2 separate regions of the Homo sapiens genome follow, and region 2 is linked to region 1. The links are contacts of gene promoters, found by promoter capture Hi-C in human tissues and cell types (Jung and others, 2019). All regions are on one chromosome and are shown on one strand. Each heading gives the region's core, a stretch centred on a gene start or on the middle of the fragment in contact. The rest is flanking DNA. Distances are from core to core; before and after follow the strand shown. Region 1 holds the start of ZNF423 (zinc finger protein 423). Region 2 overlaps SYNAGE (synapse stability regulating cerebellar lncRNA).

Region 1 (3,025 bases), core at 332-2,831:
GAGAATTCTACAAATAAGGGTGTAGGGGGCGCACGGGGTTAGCCCAGTGGTGGAAGAATTTGTTGGATGTGGGGCAGGGGTGGTCTTTGAACACCGACCGGTGGGCAAAAGCCAACCTGGCAGAGCCAGGTCCCTGGATAGTTCATGTGCGTGAGGCATACATCGCGAGGTGGCAATACTAGGGCAGCCCAACTCCGTTTGCTCCCCCATTCTTTCACTTTTTACAGTTTGTGAGGCTCATGCGTCTTGGCGAGCTTGACAGCCGCGTGGGCCCTAAGTGTGTTCCCTCCTCCTGCCCCCGGTGCAGCCAGCGCCCGAGCCCCGGCCCCGCGTGCTGGTGCGGTGCCCGCGCCCGCGCCGTGCCTGCCGCCGCCGCCGCCGCCGCCACCACGGTCCGGGTTTTGCGGGCGGCCGGAGCTGTATTTCCAGCGCTGTCCATCGCTCGGTGCTGTTGGCCCTCTCTCCGTCTGATCCGAGCCGGAGCAGTGCGGGGCGCCCCACGGGATCAGAGCGCTCCCCCGCCGGGACTCCGCTCCTCACATCCTCCTGCTGGGACCCGGCTACATTTCCAGCCAAGCCTGGCTTTATTATGTGTCTCTGCAGTGCAGCCCCAGCAGCCGGATCGGGAGGAGGAGAGCCAGCGACCACAAAGAAGACAGGAGCGCGAGGGAGGCTGGCGGGCGGGCCGGCGCCGGCTGGAGCGCGGAGGAGCCGGGGCGCAGCCGCCGCCGCCGCTGCCCAGGAGGACGGGAGCCCGGCCGCCGCCGCCGCCGCCTGCTCGTCCTCCTCTTCCGCCACCGCGGCCGCCGCCTCCCCCCTCTCCGAGCCCCTGGCCCATGGAGGCAGCTAGCGGGGCCGGCGACTTGGCACCGGCCTGGGGATCGGCTGCGCGCCTCGCGCTGAGCACCGCAGCCCGAGGGCAGGCAGCGGCGGCCCGGCGCACGGGCTGAGCGATGCCCGGGGCACGGGCGCGCCTGCCGGCCGCCGCCTGAGCGCCCCCGCGCGCCCCTTCCTCCTCCGGGGGGCCGGCGCCGGGCCGATCCGAGAGCCAGAGAAGGGGGCGTGAGCCAGGGGCCCCGAGCCGCGGCTTCCGAGCCACTGCGGCCGTTTCGAGCCTCCCCTCCAAGTAGGCTGAGTTGAGGGACCCCCGCCCCCCATCCATCATAATCTCCAAACCAGGCGCTTGGGCATTTTTGAGCCATTAATATTTATTATTTTTTTTTGTGCGGCAGGGGATAATTCGAAGGCTTCTTTTTTTTTTTTTTCCTGGGGGGTACTGAGCTTCCGCGCTCCCGACCGCCTCCCGGTCTCCTCCCCCCTTGAGATACCCTCGACTCCAGCCCCGTTCCCCCTCCTCAGATGGGTTCATTGTGAGCTCCGCACCGGGCTGCGTGGCCGGACGCCTGCAAACTTTGCACAAAAATCCGGCAAGGGGCGGAGGAGGAGGAGAAGGAGGAGGAGGGTGAGGGTGGCGGTAGGGTGGGGGAGGGAAGGAGGGGGCCGCAGGGGCCGGGGGCCGGCGGGGGGTTGGGAGGAGGAGGGGGGCGGCTTTTTTTTTTTTTTTTTTTTTTTTTTTTTTGCATAACTCGGCTCGGCCGAGTGGCCTCCGGACTCCCCGCGCCGCTGGGACCGCCGCTTGGATCGGGAGCCCCGGACTGCCGCATTGCAACAGGCAGGGCCCCGGCGCGCCCCCCGGGCCTCCCCCCGCCTTCGAGCGGCCTCGGCCGGCCCGGGCTGCCCCCCCAAGGGAGGCCGCCCCGGACCTGCGGTCCGCTCCCCACAGCCGCCAACCGGGCTGCAAAAAAAAAAGTTTCCAAGAGACAGGCGGAGGAGAAGGGGGAGAAGGGCTGCCCGGAGCGGCGGGGGGCGGCGGGGGGAGCCGGCTGCGGAGGGCGACGGAGCGCCCGGAGCCCCGGACATGTCCAGGCGGAAGCAGGCGAAGCCGCGCTCGGTGAAAGGTGAGCGAGCGAGGCCCGGCGGAGGCGCGAGCGAGCGAGCGAGGAGGGAGGGAGCGAGGGAGGAGGGACCGGCGAGCGGGCTGGCTGCCGGGGACCCGCGCGAGCGAGCCGAGAGGAGGAGGAGGAGGCGGCAGAGGAGGCGGAGGCGGAGGCGGAGGCGGAGGAGGGGGAGGAGGAAGCCGGGAGCAGGAGGCGGAGGCGGCGGCGGCGGCGGCGGCGGCGGAGGGGGTACGCCGCGGACACCCTCCCTGCCCGGACTCGGCGCCGTCGCCCTTGGGGGACCCAGGCCTGGGGGCGCCGCTAAGGGGCCCTTGCCGCTCCCTCCGTGCGGGGCCCGGGCCCGTGTGGCCAATCAAGGGGTGCTGGCCCGACTTGGCGGGGATTGCGAATCTCGGCGGCGGCGGGCGGGCGACAGGAGGAAGGAAGAGGCGGCGAGGACGGGCGCCCGGCAGGCCGACCGCTCCTCGCTGGCCCCGGGCCTCGCTGGCTCTCTCTGGCCCCTGCCTGGTCGCCCGAGGACGCGGGGAGCGGCGGGCGCTGTCGGCGAGCGCCCCGGGCGCCGCGCCCTCGCCCCGGCCGCCTGGCGCCCCCTCCCGCCCCTGCCCAGGCCTTCTCCCGGCCCGGGCCCCTGCACTTCCTGCCTCCTCCACCGAGGCCCACCGGGCAGGGAGCCTCCGCCAGGAGTTCATTGTCTGCACGGCGCCGGCGGGACGCAGGTCCTCAGGGGAGCTCAGCGGCCGCGGTGCGCGCCCCTCCGCGGAGGGCGCCCCGGATCTGACCCCGGGCACCGGCACCCTGGATCTGACCCCGGGCACCGGCACCCTCGACACCCAGGCCGGCTTTCTGTGCTGGCTCCCCGGGGTGCGCGCGTTTGTGGGGAGCTGCAGATATATAGATACACACACCCATCCCTTCGTCTCCACGCTTTGCTTTCTATTTCCAGCGAGGGCCCCCAGCTCGAGGGGACCCCTGGAGAGTAGAGGCCCCGGGGAAAGGCCGCGCGCCGGCAGCAGAGCCCCTCCCCTGGCCTCCTCTCCCCGCGGCTGGCCTTTCCAGGCCTTGCCTGC
Region 2 (3,025 bases), core at 184-2,683, 570 kb after region 1:
CTTGAGTTCACCGCAAAAAACAATGCTTCGATTAGAGCAATGCATATAATAAAGGTTACCCTCGTTTCTTAGACACTAGACATCATTCACAAAAAGAGAACTGCTTTTGAAAGGGATGTATTTGCACTGGAAAGAATAGTTTTCTACTTCTAATTATAAATGATTTATTGGTGAAAGCAAAACAACAGCCTGTCTGAGAGGCACTTCTATGAGCATCCTCACGTGTGATTTGCAAGGTTGAAGAAGAGGGAAAAATGCCTCAATTGTACCAATGGTGAGAAAACACCCAAAGTACAAAGCAGGTTTCAAAAAAACCATACTCATAACCAAGGACAATAATAAAGCAATGTGTTGACATATACTCTATAAGTCTTCCTCCATAAATAGTTTATAGAAATTTTGTAATTTCTGTAAATGCATCCTATAATAATTTTGCATCTTGCTTTTTTTTTACATTTAATATCAAGTAGATTTCTAAAGGGCAATTATTTGAAAATTATCCCAAATACATGGGGAAATATACATCAAGTGAAAAAATGCAGTGGGTGATAGAGATATCAGGAAGCGCCTCAAATATTTCTCATCTCGTTGGAGAAAAACAAACATGTTCTCATTTAGAATGAGTGGGAGTTACCTAATTGATTTAGGCCTCTATATTTAACTTCTAGTCAAAAAAGGTAGTTCTATCTAGCAACAATATTATGGGGAACAAAAGAAAAAATTAACTCTCTAAATTTGCAGTAGGGTCTTTTCTTCAGAAGTACCAAATCCCATCTATTACCAGCTCCATGCTTCAGGCCTAAAATGGATCTCCCTGAAGCAATGACAGAATTTTTGCCAAGTGACTAGGATATAAACACCACTTTGGTTGCACAGTGAGACATATGCTCCAAAGAAAACTGGTTCAAAAACAGGCAAGTGGGTTTCTACAGAATAAATGAGAGCCCTGTCAATGGCTTCATCTTCAGGGCTTTGTGTCTGTGCTTGCGTGGTGGCTCTTGTTTCATCTATGGATAATGGTGGCACACAGTTTTCATAATTCCTTACATTAATGAACTGCTATAAATTTGTTTTTGGTATTCTAGAGAGTCCTAACTTCAGCTTCTGGGCAATGCTGAGGAGGCACCCTATATTCTAGACTTACCTTTTGCAAGGTGTACTCTCAGCATTGTGGGCGATTTCCATGGGAGAATATTCTATTTAAAGAACTACTGTCCCAGCATAAAACAAAAAATCATTTATGAAGATGCAGGAGACTCGGAAAGCTCTCAATTATTGTTTGCACAAGCACAATGTCACAGCCTCCTTTCCCCATTCCACAAGGGGGTCAGGAAGAGAGTACTCAGCTGTGAGAAAAGACATACAGAAGAATTCATGTGGTCATGAGAGCGAGGACATGGCCGATCCCCCAAGGAGGATGTGTCATACACTTCATGAGCCCAAGAGTGTGCTGTAGGGTCTGAAGGGCAAGATGCTGGTTCACTGATGTAAAGGAGAGGGAAAAAAGCTTCAACCAACTAGAAAAACAGTCTCTATGCATGCTATTTTTGATTTTAAACACAGGTATCAATTCCTTCTCTCAGAGAGTCCATTTTAAAATAGGATACATTTTTAAAGGAATATTTAAAGGACACATTCATTAAAATTTATTTTAAAAACTTTTCAAAAGAAACAAAAGGTATGAATTTTATTTAATCCTTGAGGAAATGGTTCTTTTCTCACACACATAAATCACTCATTTTGTTTTTCTTTATCTCCTTTATTAATCTACATTAGAAAAATAAACTTTTCATACACTAAGAACAAGGAAACCACTCTCAATTGACAAAATGTTCCAATCCAACACAATGATTACTTTCACCTTTAATTTACAGGCAGCCAGATTCAAAATCCTTAAAGTTGCTTAAACTTAAAAATGACAATGACAACCTAAAAGGTATAATGTTGATTGGAACAGACATTTAATTGGAAAATTGATGATTTTCCATTTCCAATTAAATCTCTAGATAGAAATGAAAAAAATTAAAAATCGTATTTAAGAAAAGCCAAATCTTGGGTTGTGAGGTATCTTTTTAAGGATGTTTCAGCAGAAAAAAACAAAGGCTCTCACAATTGTGTAGCTGCCTAGATTAAGTGGGTATCCTGATCAAGGAGATGGGGGATGATTTGGCTTTAGTATTCCAATGATAAAGTTTATAATGAGAATAACATGTTGCTACAAAATCCAGTCTCTTCCTCAGATGCCTTCCACAGAGGGCAGGAAGCTTTGTCAGTTTTGTTTGCTGATGATGCCTGGTTCCGTCAACAAATAACACCTGTCACACGGTGGGTAGTCAATATACATTTGTTGAATAAATATGAAAAAAAGAAATGTACAATATGTTTGTGAAGCCAACTGTGTGTGCATTGCTATTGAGGTACACAAAAAGTCTTTGTTTTAAATTTGAGAATGAGGACTTTCAATGGAATATATCTATAAAAATGAAAAAAAGACATTACTGTCTGGACTTTTGTACAGCAAGAGAAGAAAAACCACTAGCCAAGAGCCAACTCACCTGATAGGCCTGGATCAAGCATGCAGCTGTGGAGAACACCCCTGGGACTCTAACTCTGGCACTCTGCAAGCTGGGTACTTGGGCAGGACAGCAGCAGCACTCATGAACTGGGCAGCACCTGTTGGTGAGGGCTGATCACATGGATTCTCTCATCCCAGCCTTACAATCAGTCCTTCAGGTACATACTTTTTCTGACTTTGCTGATGAGGAAACTATGCACAGAGGTTACACAGCTTAACAAAGGGTTCTCACCTAATGAACAATGAAATGGGATTTTAGCCTTTCTTTGCATCTGGTCTTAGAGCCAATACCCAAGAAGCACTGTACTGTATGCATTGTCTCAGAGAAACTTACTCTTCCTGGGCCTCAGTCTTTAAAAGGTGGGCAGTTGACTTAATAAGAATTAAAGATCAATGATTAAGGTTCAAGGCACTCCAAAATTCTGGTCTTTATTGAAAAGGCTACAGAAG

What was found. Contacts are between HindIII fragments. The study calls those that stand out against the background at their distance.
Region 2: a fragment that was not itself captured here is called in contact with the fragment with the promoter of ZNF423 in region 1 in 1 of the 25 tissues and cell types used here (lymphoblastoid cells).

The regions. Positions count from the first base shown.
Region 1 is chr16:49,854,668-49,857,692 of GRCh38, reverse strand. ZNF423 (zinc finger protein 423) reads left to right here and starts at 1,581. Exons shown (of 8, transcript NM_001379286.1): 1 at 1,581-1,958. The coding sequence starts at 1,919. RefSeq lists a silencer at 2,078-2,337. The HindIII fragment of the contact is 13,140 bases long and covers 1-3,025 here.
Region 2 is chr16:49,289,186-49,292,210 of GRCh38, reverse strand. SYNAGE (synapse stability regulating cerebellar lncRNA) reads right to left here. Exons shown (of 4, transcript XR_933530.4): 3 at 2,556-3,025; 4 at 1-2,473. Among named protein-coding and RNA genes, the nearest start is that of SYNAGE, 8.6 kb to the right of the region's middle. The HindIII fragment of the contact is 3,032 bases long and covers 1-2,949 here.